Linked DNA regions of Homo sapiens: region 1 is linked to region 2. Evidence: promoter capture Hi-C in 16 types of primary human blood cells and fetal thymus (Javierre and others, 2016). All regions are on one chromosome and are shown on one strand. Each heading gives the region's core, a stretch centred on a gene start or on the middle of the fragment in contact. The rest is flanking DNA. Distances are from core to core; before and after follow the strand shown. Region 1 holds the start of ZNF598 (zinc finger protein 598, E3 ubiquitin ligase). Region 2 holds the start of ECI1 (enoyl-CoA delta isomerase 1).

The links. The method cuts DNA at HindIII sites, captures the fragments that hold promoters and counts their contacts. A CHiCAGO score of 5 or more calls a contact.
Region 1: the fragment with the promoter of ZNF598 here is called in contact with the fragment with the promoter of ECI1 in region 2 in 2 of 17 cell types (erythroblasts and endothelial precursors); the score reaches 7.7 in erythroblasts.

Annotation. Positions count from the first base shown.
Region 1 is chr16:2,005,756-2,011,630 of GRCh38, forward strand. ZNF598 (zinc finger protein 598, E3 ubiquitin ligase) reads right to left here and starts at 4,066. Exons shown (of 14, transcript NM_178167.5): 1 at 3,983-4,066; 2 at 3,870-3,981; 3 at 3,769-3,868. The coding sequence starts at 3,992. LOC124903626 (a long non-coding RNA gene) reads left to right here and starts at 4,130. Exons shown (of 2, transcript XR_007064941.1): 1 at 4,130-4,347; 2 at 4,553-4,833. RefSeq lists silencers at 1-147, 3,365-3,434, 3,445-3,874, 3,965-4,184 and enhancers at 945-1,892, 3,792-4,740, 4,265-4,424. The HindIII fragment of the contact is 28,758 bases long and covers 1-5,875 here.
Region 2 is chr16:2,246,850-2,252,847 of GRCh38, forward strand. It overlaps ECI1 (enoyl-CoA delta isomerase 1), which reads right to left and starts at 4,738. Exons shown (of 7, transcript NM_001919.4): 1 at 4,666-4,738; 2 at 4,467-4,580; 3 at 10-137. The coding sequence starts at 4,717. LOC107984839 (a long non-coding RNA gene) reads left to right here and starts at 4,821. Exons shown (of 2, transcript XR_001752052.2): 1 at 4,821-5,144. RefSeq lists enhancers at 4,070-4,199, 5,130-5,189 and a silencer at 4,410-4,879. The HindIII fragment of the contact is 15,979 bases long and covers 1-5,998 here.

The DNA of each region.
Region 1 (5,875 bases), core at 2,816-5,315, 240 kb before region 2:
TGTGCGGGCACAGGGCCAGGCCCCGCTGAGGAGCACATACACTCCTCTGTCCTTGCCGCCTGGGGGCACCCATGCTCCATGCGATGCTAGCACATCGCAAGTCCCAAGAAACCTATGTGGGACGGCACTGGTGGGGCTGGCGGACTCGGTCAAGGCAGCCTCTCTGAGGCCAGGGAGCAGCTGGGGGTGGAGGAGCTGCGGGGAGCTGGGCAGAGGCAGGGCCAGGCCGGGCGGATCCCAGGTGCACTGACAGCACCCAGATGAAGGACCCAGGGTGGGCCAGCACGGGAGGGCTACATGCCCCATATGGAGTCTAGATGGGCATCCATCTGCACAGCAGCTAAGGCAGGTACTCCGAGCACCAGGGGTAGCAAGACCCAGAGTATTCGTCCCTCCTGAACAGCTGGGAGGGGTCACCTAGGCAGGGCACCTAAGCGGAGCAACGAGACAGGGGAAAGGAGACACTGGGTGGGCTCAGGAACAGGAAGAGGCTTGTGAAAGAACAATGGCTGTGAGCAAGGTGGGCCCAAGGCCACAATCACTGGAGCAGGAGGGCGTGCAGGTTTGGGGCCGGAGTGAGAAATACCACCTGATAGTGGGGGCCTGAGGCTGCCCATCCTCAGACAGGCAGGGAGACCAGGACTGGCTGCCCAGACCTCAGGAGCGGGCAGTGGGACAGCAGTGCAGCCTGGCATGGCCAGCATCGCCCTCCCTGAGGGTGAGGAGGGGGCTGGACAAGGCTGCGCCCCGCAGCACAGTGGCCAGGGTGGAGTCAGGCACGGTCCACTAAGGAGCCAAACAGCAAGACCCTCCCCCGCCTGATGGTTCCAGCACAGCCAGGCTGGGAGTAGGGGACGTAGGGGACATGGAGGCCAGGGGAAGATGGCTATGGGTAGGGGACTTGGGGGCCTGGGGGAGATGCCTGGGGTGGGACTTGGTGGCTGGAGGGAAATGGCTGGGTTGGGACGTGGGGGCAGGGGGGAGATGGCTGGGGCTACAGAGGGAGACAACAGGTCTAGGTCGCCCCAGCAGGAGAGGGTCACGTGTCTGAGGACAGAAGTACAGAACCCATGGGGAGAGGCTTGGGGATGGGCTATGCAGCAAATGATGAGGGGAAGGGCACTCTACGTGAGCCCTGGAGACGGCCAAGCTAGGCCCCAAGGAGAGCAAGAGGCAAATGGGGTGAGGCCTGCTTAGGAACAGGAGGCCCCCAAGACCCCCCACAGGGACAGGTGTGGTGTCTGCCTGGGGCCTTGCTGCTCTACACTCCCCAGCATGTCATGGGCACACAAAAGGACAGCGGTGAGGGCCTGCCCACACGTGGGGAGGGGGACCCTGGGGTTGGCTCCCAGGGCCATCTAGAGAGTCTAGACCTCCAAGGAGCCCAGATGGGGACAGCAGCAGCAGGGAGCATCTTACAGAGGGCCAGGGCCATGGGGGACGGGAGCGGGGTGGGGGGACAGCAGAAGCAGGGAGCATTTTACAGATAGGGCCAGGGCCACGGGGGACGGGAGCAGGGCGGAGGGGGAGCAGTAGGAGTAGGAAAGCATGACCCAAGCCAGCATGTCACCCTCCTGACCTGGGACCTTGGGTAACTGTGGGCTGGCCCTCTGCGCCCCCTCCCACTGCCTGCCTGTAAGGTGCAGGTGGGCTGCCCTGGGGGGCTTGCAGCCTCATCAGGACTCCTGCAGTAACACCAGGGACCAGAGCAAGCTGGAGAGCAAGATGCAAACAGCAGGAACCGGCCCTTGAGAAAGACGCAGCCAGGAAAGAGGCCCAGAACGTGGGGCTCCACCACCCCAGGACCTCTGTCAGCCATGGCCAAGACCAGCGCCCCCACCTCCCACGGAGGGGAGCCTGCCTCGGCTTCCACCCTGAGCACCTGCCAGGGGTCAGGCCCATCTGGCTCCTGGCCTGAGCAGCAGCTGCAGCCTCCACAGGGAAGGCCTGGGTCCAGGTGTGTGGAACTAACAAGCACATGGAGCCAGCCGATTCCACACGGCATCCTGGACACTTTCCTCACAATTTTCGCAAAACCTTAGTCCCATAAGGGAGGCCAAGGCAACGCCAGGGTTCAGGAGTTGAGGGTTGCAGTGGGAATTCCTGAGCACGCATGGGACACAGAATATATTCAGGGGATGGTGCTGAACTCAGTAAGGAAAAAGGAGACTAGAGTGAGGCGGCAAGCTCAAGATGGGAAGAAAATAGAACGAATGCAAAGGAGAGGAGACCAGCAAACAGCAAACTTTCCAGGAGCCCCTCCTTCAGCCCAGTAAGGCGGGGTAGGCCCTAGAGGAAGCCGGCTGGGGGCACCCAGTGCCAAACCACACCCCGGCTGACAGCTCATGTCCGCAGCCCCCAGCCACAGAGCTCCTGGAGGGCGTGGGGCCTACAAGGAATGAGAGCGGGCAGAGGCTGCCACAGTAAGCATACGCAGATGTTCACTCATGTCTTGCATCAGACCTGCAGCCTGGGTCGGGACCTCACGTGCCAAGAACTCCTTAGCGTCTTCTTTCCGGAAGGAAGCTACAGGTGTGCTGGGAAACCTAGCTGTTGGAGAGTGAGGTCATGCTATGCAGGACTGGCTGGCAAGGCAGGCCCTGGCAAAGCCAGGAAGCGCCCTGAGGAAGCCACGGGCCAAGGTCCTCTGTGACTGTTCCTGCACCCCAGATCTCCCCGGGGTCTGGGTCGGCCTCCTCCTGTCACATGACAGACTGATAGAATCTCCAAATGTCTTTTTCCAAAAAGGGCACAGACTATAAGCCCACAAATTGCTCAGAGAATTGCAGCATCTCTTCAACTCCTTTGATGTAAACGTCTACTTAAAGAAAGAAAAGGAAAAAAAGAAAGAACCTACACCTCAATACTGCTCTGCATCACTTCTGGGGAGAAGAAAGTTAGATTCCTGGCAGATGTCACCAGCCGAAGCCTTCTATGAACAAACCGGGGGAATTTCACAATGCTGGAAGCAAACAAATCTCTAAGCTCAGCAAACCAACGGGCTCCAGCCAGGTGCCCACAGCCAGCAGCTGGCAGTGCAGTGAGGGTGGAGGAACGCTGCATGGTACCCTCTGACCCCTCCACGGCTTCCAAGTCTGTACAGTCAAAAACGTCTCCCATTCACTGCGGAGATGAGCGCCAAAGGCGGGGGGCGGCGGCGAGGAGGAGGACAACTTCCTAACACTTTTCTCCCTTCCCGCCAAGAAGCGCGAGGGGGCCTTCCCCTCCGACGGGCAGGTCTCCTTCCGAGGCTAGTGTCACCTCCACTCCACAGAGGAAAACGTCAGTCTCGGAAGGAGTTTGCTCAGGGTCATCCAATGGGGGCCCAGAAACACAGCTGGGCTGAGAATGCCCAGAGTTTGACGCCCTGCTTCCAGGACGGATGGCCTCCGCAGAGTCCCCCTTGCCTTGTTTCCTCGAATGGAGGACCCTGGAAAATAAACTCCTGAAGACGAGCAGGTCACCGAGTTCTCCATCTGATCAGGACCCTTCCTGAGGCCCGGCAGGAACCCCCGGGACACGGGGGAAGTCCCCAGGCTGTCCCCACAGGGCTTGCCCCCTCCTGCAACCCGCTCGGCCGCCTCCGGCCTCCAAGCCCCAACGCCCCGCCGTCAGCCGCACGGCCGGGACCCCGCCCTGGGTGGCCCCACCAGGCCTCTCTCGGAAGCCGGCGCCGCCGGGCCCACGGCCGGACCTCAGTGAGGCAAAGTCCCCATCCGGTCGCCGGGAGCCCCGCTGCCCCCGGGCCGCGCCCCCGGCGCCCCGCACCTGGCGCAGCTCCTCGCGGCACACGGCGCAGTAGCGCTGCTCGCAGAGCACCCGCATCTTGGTAGAGCAGCGGTAGCACACCGGGTGGTCGCAGCGGCCCCAGCGCCGTGGCCTCCAGGTCTCCGCAGCACAGCACGCAGCTCCCGCCTCCCCGCTCAGGAGCTGCCGCCGCCTCCGCCTCCATGTCCGCGCGCCGCCCCTCGGCGCCCCCCGGCCGCCGCCATGGTCCGGGATCCGGCCCCCCTCTCGGCCGGTCGTGGCGCCGAGCGGCCTGGCTCCCGGCGGGCCCGCCCCTTCCGGGCAAACGTCACCGCCCCACCCAGCAACGGGCCCGCCCGGCGCAAGTGCGCGTCGCGACTTCCGCCTCAGCGCGGCGCCGGCTAGAGCGGTGGCCCTGATAGAGGCCGCTCTACCATGAGCCGACCGCTCGAAGGTCCGCGCGGCCACGCGGCCAGCCCCGGGCTCCTCTGGGCCACGCGTGTCACGTCAACACTCGCCGGGCTCCACGAACTGGCGTTGTCAGATGAAACACGGCACAACTGGTTTGCATCTCAGATGAACAAGGGGTCATGTCTTAGTGTAAGTATAGCCCAAATATTGATGGGCTAGGCTCATACTAAAATGCTGCTCCTTATCTGAAATTGACATTTAAGTGGACCTGCCGTATTTGTATTTGCTAAATCTGGCCACCTTATTAGGAAACCGGTCTCTGGTATTTGGAACACACACAAGCGTGGTCCCGCCTCCACTTCCCTAATGCCCTGTTTAAATCCCTACATGAAAGACAACGTGAAAGGCAGCACGTGGTGACGTCCATCTCGCAGCCCAGGGCAGTCTCGCCAGGCCTGCCCAGAAGGGGCCTCTGGAAGGCACGAACGGAACCTGTCCTCTTTACGCTGGGCCCAGCACAGGACGTGTTTGGATGGATGCTGCAGTAACAGGGCCTCCTCCCTACCCTTGAGGGCCAGGCACACTCAGGACCTCCCTCCCTCTGCCATCCAGAAGGCAGGTCCAGATCTAAACCCTACTGGAAAAGAGGCAGTAAATTGTATCAATGAGCCTGAACTTTACTTACTTTATTTGAGACCGGGTCTTGCTCTTGCTGTAACACAGTGGTACGATCACAGCACACTGAGGCCTCAACCTCCTGGGCTCAAGTGATCCATGCCCAGTGAACTTGGACTTTAGAAACAGACACAAATGGGCTTGAAACCCCAATTTTGCCACTTGAAAAAAGCTGTCAGGCACAGTGGCTCAAGCCTGTAATCCCAGCAGTTTGGGAGGCTGGGTGGCCCGGATTGCTGGAGCCTGGGAATTTGAGACCAGCCTGGCCTACACAGTCAGGCTCCATCTCCACAAAAAAAATTTTTAGGCCGGGCGTGGTGGCTCACGCCTGTAATCCCAGCACTTTGGGAGGTTGGGATCACCTGAGGTCAGGAATTGGAGACAAGCCTGACCAAAATGGTGAAACCCCATCTCTACTAAAAATACAAAAATTAGCCGGGCGTGGTGACATGTGCCTGTAGTCCCAGCTACTCGGCAGCCTGAGGCAGTAGAATCTCTTGAAACCGTGAGGCAGAGGTTGCAGTGAGCCGAGATCACGACAATCACGCCACTGCACTCCAGCCTTGGCAACAGAGCGAGACTCCATCTCAAAAAAAAAAAAAAAAACACACACGACTAGAGTGCAGTGGCGTGATCTCGGCTCACTGCAAGCTCCGCCTCCCGGGTTCACGCCATTCTCCTGCCTCAGCCTCCTGAGTAGCTGGGACTACAGGCACCCGCCACCACGCCCTGCTAATTTTTTTTTTTTATTTTTAGTAGAGACAGGATTTCACCATGTTCGCCAGGATGGTCTCGATCTCCTGACCTCTTGATCCACCTGCCTTGGCCTCCCAAAGTGCTGGGATTACAGGCATGAGCCACTGTGCCTGGCCAAAACACACAAAAATTAACGGGGCGTGGTGACATGCGCCTGTAGTCACAGCTTCTCGGGAGGCTGAGGCACGAGAAACGCTTGATCCCAGGAGGCAGAGGTTTCAATGAGCAGAGATTGCGCCCCTGCACTCCAACCTGGGCCACAGAGTGAGACTCCATCTCAAAAAAA
Region 2 (5,998 bases), core at 3,488-5,987:
AGCACCTACCGAGGTCAGAATGACACCGCGGAAGCTCTTGTCATTCTCCAGCTTCTCCAGGCTGATGACCAGCTCCGTCAGAAACTCCAGGCTCAGGCTGTTCACTGGGGGGTTCTTGAATTTCATCACAGCGACCCCTAATTTAAAGAATGAGAAGAGAAAGCTCACACCTGGCACTGGAAAAGCAGCCTGACCAGCCTGCACCCTCAACTAAGCCATGATAGCTGTGCATTTTGGGGGTTTTATTTATTAATTTATTTATTTAGAGACAGAGTCTCGCTCTGTCACCCAGGCTGGAGTGCAGTGGCGCGATCTCAGCTCACTGCAAGCTCTGCCTTCCGGGTTCACACCATTCTCCTGCCTCAGCCTCCTGAGTAGCTGGGACTACAGGTGCCCACCACCACGCCCGGATAATTTTTTTCTTTTAAGTAGAGACAGGGTTTCACCGTGTTAGCCAGGATGGGCTCGATCTCTTGACCTCGCGATCTGCCCACGTCGGCCTCCCAAAGTGCTGGGATTACAGGCGTGAGCCCCCGCGCCTGGTCCTATTTTTATTTACTTTTTTGAGACGGAGTTTTGCTCTTGTTGCCCAGGTTCAAGTGCAATGGAGCGATCTTGGCTCACCGCAACCTCTGCCTCTTGGGTTCAAGCGATTCGACTGCCTCAGCCTCCCGAGTAGCTAGGATTACAGGTGCGTGCCGCTACATCCAGCTAATTTTGTATTTTTAGTAGGGACGGGGTTTTCTCCATGCTGGTCAGGCTGGTCTTGAACTCCCAACCTCAGGTGATCCGCTCGCCTCGGCCTCCCAAAGTGCCAGGATTACAGGCGTAAGCCACAGCGCCCGGCCTGGGGGTTATTTTTTTATTATTATTATTTTTGAGACAGGGTCTCACTCTATCACCTAGGAGTGCAGGGGTGTGATCTCTGGTTACTGCAGCTTTGACCTCCTGGGCTCCAGCGATCCTCCCAACTCAGCCTGCTGAGTAGCTGGGATTATAGGCAAGCGCCACCACACCCAGTTAATCTTTTTTATTTTTTAGTACAGACGAGGTCTTATTTTGTTGCCCAGGCTGGTCTTGAACTCCTGAGCTTAAGTGGTCCTTCTGCCTCAGGCTCCCAAAGTGCTAGATTACAGGAGTGAGCCCTTGGTTTTTTACATTGAAGTAAGATCGATATAACATAAATTAACAATTTTATTTATTCTATATAAACTGCATGCTTTTTAAATCAACCATTCTCTCTTTCTCTCTCTATCATTTTTTTCTGAGACAGAGTCTCGCTCGTCGCCCAGGCTGGAGTGCAGTGGCGCGATCTCAGCTCACTACAACGTCCACCTCCCGGGTTCAAGCGATTCTCCTGCCTCAGCCTCCTGAGTAGCTGGGACTACAGGTATGCGCCACTATGCCCAGCTAATTTTTGTATTTTTAGTAGAGATGGGGTTTCACCATGTTGGTTGGCCAGGATGGTCTCGATCTCTTGACTTCGTGAACACCTCGCCTCGGCCTCCCAAAGTGCTGGGATTACAGGTGTGAGCCACCATGCCCGGCCAAATTAACCATTTTCTATCTTTATTTTTTTTTTGAGACAAGAGCCTCGCTCTGTTGCCCAGGCTGGAGTGCAGCAGCGCTATCTCGGCTCACTGCAACCTCTGCCTCCTGGGTTCAAGCCATTCTTCTGCCTCAGCCTCCTGAGAAGCTGGGATTACAGGACACACCACCATGCCTGGCTAATTTTTGCATTTTTAGTAGAGACGGGGTTTCACCAGGTTGGCCAGGCTGGTCATGAACTTCTGACCTCAGGTGATCCTCCTGCCTCGGCCTCCCAAAGTGATGTGATTATAGGTATGAGCCACTGTGCCCAGCCTAAATTAGCCATTTTTAAGTAAACAAGTCAGGCACTTACACAATTCAGTATACTGACTGTGTTGTGCAACTATCGCCGCTGCCTAGTTCCAGAACCTTTTCATTGTCCCAAAAGGAATCCCTGTCCCCATGAGCAGTTGCTCCTCATCCCACCCCTAGCCCCTGGAAGCCGCCAGTCTGCGTTCTGTGTCTGCGGTTTTCCTGCTCCAGCCATATTCCATATCACTGGGATACCGCCGGGCTTTGTTGTCGGCTTTGTCCACTTAGTATCATGTGTTCAAGGTTCATCCATGTGGTTGTCATTCCTATTTATTTATTTATTTATTTTATTTAATTAATTAATTTATTTTTGAGACAGATTCTTGCTCTGTTGCCCAGGCTGGAGTGCAGTGGCGCGATCTCGGCTTACTGCAAGCTCCACCTCCGGGGTTCACACCATTCTCCTGCCTCAGCCTCCCAAGTAGCTGGGACTACAGGTGCCCGCCACCACGCCCGGCTAATTTTTTTTTGTATTTTTTAGTAGAGATGGGGTTTCACCGTGTTAGCCAGAATGGTCTCAATCTCCTGACCTCGTGATCCGCGCACCCTGGCCTCCCAAAGTGCTGGGATTACAGGTGGGAGCCACCGGGCCCGGACTCAAAAACATGTTATCTTAAGGTATTGGAATGGGTAGTGTGGACTACACATTGTGAATATACTTACGGCCACGGGGTTGTACATTGCAAAATGGCTAGAATGGTAAATGTGAGGCATATTTTAAAGATTTTTATGTACACACACACACACATTACCTCCGGTAAAAAAGGAAAAGTGTTCGTACAATGACAATTTTTTTACTCGAGTGCCTCCCCACTTTACCATATAAAAAGACAACGTAAGCCGGGCGCGGTGGCTCACGCCTGTAATCCCAGCACTTTGGGAGGCCGAGGCGGGTGGATCACGAGGTCAGGAGATCAAGACCATCCTGGCTAACATGGTGAAACCCCGTCTCCACTAAAAATACCAAAAAAAAAAAATTAGCCGGGCGTGGTGGCGGGCGCCTGTAGTCCCAGCTACTTGGGCGGCTGAGGTAGAAGAATGGTGTGAACCCGGGAGGCGGAGCTTGCAGTGAGCGGAGATCGTGCCACTGCACTCCAGCCTGGCGACAGAGCAAGACTCCGTCTCAAAAAAAAAAAAAAAAAAAAAAAAAAAAAGACAAAGTAGAGTTTGGAGTCAGAAAGTCAGGCCTGACTGAGATTGCAGTGAGCCGGAACCGCGCCATTGCACGCCAGCCTGGGTGACAGAGGGAGCCTCTGTCTCAAAAAAAAAAAAATAATAATTTTTTTTTTTGCATTTTGTTGAGATATATTCAAATATGCTACAGAAATGATCCCTTCAGAAACTCAGTTTTTACAAAAATTAGTGGGCATAGTGGTGGGTCCCTGTAATCCCAGCTATTTGGGAGGCTGAGGAGGGAGAATCGCTTGAACCCAGGAGGCACAGGTTGCAGTGATCGGAGATTGCGCCACTGCACTCCAGTCTGGCGACTGGAGAGCAAGACTACATCTCCAAAAAAAAAAAAAAAAAAAAAAAAAGTCAGTTTGAAGTTGGTCTTAGTTTGTCCCTCTCAAGTTTGTAGAGAGAGCCCAGGCAGCTCCCTCAGCCCAGACAGAGAGGACGGAACCAAGTTCAGAGGCACCAGGAGCCTGGAGTCCTGAAGCTGTGCAAAGTTGGGCACAGCCCTGAGTCTGGGGGGTTGGGGAGGGCAGGGGCTGTGACTTACTTGCGGAGGGGGAGGGCCTCCTCTCAGGAGCCACAGCAGGGACTGCTGCACCGGGAGGTCCAGGTCAGCATGTCCTGGAAGCAGAACTGCTGGCGCCTAGGCGTGCCCTCTCGGTGCCCTCAGCTCGGCCTCCTGTCTGGAGGGAGCGCACAGGCTTCTCTTCCAAAAGTACTTTTTCTATCCTTTCCAGTGGGTTTTACCAAGGGTTCTGACGGGCGGGTAGGTACGAGGTTCTGTGCCACATGGGAGTGTTAACAAACGTAATTTTATTCCAAAAGATTCCAATTCTTTTCCACTTCCAATTGAATAACTTAGATAACAGCTCATATCCCCGCCAACTTTATTTTTATTTATTTATTTATTTTGAGACGGAATCTTGCTCTGTGGCCCAAGCTGGAGTGCAGTGGCACAATCTCGGCTCACTGCAGCCTCCACCTCCCAGATTCCAGCGATTCTTCTGCCTCAGCCTCCCAGGCATAGGCACGCACCACCACGCCCAGCTAATTTTTTTCTTTTGTATTTTTCAGTACAGATAGGGTTTCATCATGTTGGCCAGGCTGATCTCGAACTCCTGACCTCAGGTGATCCGCCCGCCTCTGCCTCTTAAAGTGCTAGGATTACAGGCGTGAGCCACCGCGCCCGGCCTCCGCCAACTTTAAAAACAGAAACTTTTATCTCATGACGAACGAACCCAGGTAGAGCGGCAAGGTTCTGTTTCGAAACTTGGGTTCTAAACACAAACCGAGCGTCGACAGACGTGGTTCTCCGACAGCACCCCGCGAGCGCGGACCCCCGCGGGTCCTGACCCCACGCCCGCCCTCCCTCGGCGCCGCCCGCTCACCTGCGCCCGCGTCCGGCTCCACCAGCACCCGCTGGCTCCCGAAGCGCCGCGCGCCGTCTCCGCCGCCGGCCGCCCGCTCCGTCCGCCCGAGGGCCGCGCCCGGGAGCCGGGCCCCTGCGAAGGCAGCGTGGGGGAGCCCGTTAGTTCCCGGTCCTGGCCCCGGCCCCGGCCCGATCCCTGCCCACCCCGGGTTTCGCACCCGCGCGGAGCAGAACGCGCGCCGGGACTCGCACAGAAGCCACCAGCGCCATCTTGACCGCAACGCGCGGGATAAAGGTCGCGGGCTGAGCTCGCCTCCTGGGGAGGGGGCGGAGCCCCCCCAACTAGGTCCCGCCCCGTTCCCAGAGGCTGGTCAACGCCTCCACCTACCGGCCGAAACAGCCGCTCGCCGCCCTCCGGCTTCACCCCGGGCAGCCGCGCGCTTCCGGGGCAGGCACCTGGATCTGGGCCAGGGCTGGCCTACAAGGAGGCGCAGGCCCACTGCTGAAGCAGCCACGACCAGCTCAGCGCCAGGGCAGGCTCTTCTACAGCGCGGGACACTGTAGGCAAGAGGCTGCCGGTGTTCGTGACCGCGAGCTCTCGGCCGGGCCCAGCTACTGCAGTATCGGCGCTGGAAAGGCGATCAAAGCACGGAACCCCTCCCGAGGGGGCCGTCAGGGAGGCCAGGGGCTGCCTGGGGTGAGCCCGGCCTCCTGCCCCTTTGGGAACAGGATCAGAGCTGCAGGTTTAGTCACCGAAATGGGGGTGGGGGCAGCAGAACCCAGCGGTAAGAACAGGCCACCCGCCTTGCTCAGCACAAGGGCAAGTGCACAAAGGCCGGACCGCAGTGGCACCTTTTTATTTGCAGAGAAATGCCGAAAGATAAGAATACAGTCTGTTCCCGCTGGGCCGTAAGCGGCAGCTCGGGAGTGGGCCTTTGTACTGTCTGGTGTGGGGTTTTGGTCAGACCACTGGGAGCACTGGGCAGTAAGGTCCCAGCTGTGTTGGGTGGTCTCAACTTTTGTTCTCATCTTAAGCATTTCCAATTCTTCCTTGTGTCCCAAACCAATTTTTGAGGTGGAAAAATGGCCACTTAACGGAGGAGGAAGCAAGCCTGGCATGGTGACACACACCTGTAACCCCAGTGACTCAGGACCAGCTGGGTAACATAGCAACAACTTGTTGCTACAAAAAATTCTTAAAAATTAGCTCCTGCTGCTGGGCGCGGTGGCTCATGCCTGTAATCCCAGCACTTTGGGGGCCAAGGTGGGCAAATCATGAGGTCAGGAGTTTGAGACCAGCCGGGCCAATATGATGAAACGCCGTCTCTACTAGAAATACAAAAAATTAGCTGGGCATGGTGGCAGGTGCCTGTAATTCCAGCTACTCAGGAGGCTGAGGCAGGAAAATCACTTGAACCCAGGAGGCAGAGGTTGTAGTGAGCCAATATTGCGCCACTGCACTCCAACCCAGGCAACAGAGACTGTCTCAAAAAAAAAATTAAAAAATTAAAAAAAAATTAGCCCCTGCTACTCTGGACACTGAAGAAGGAG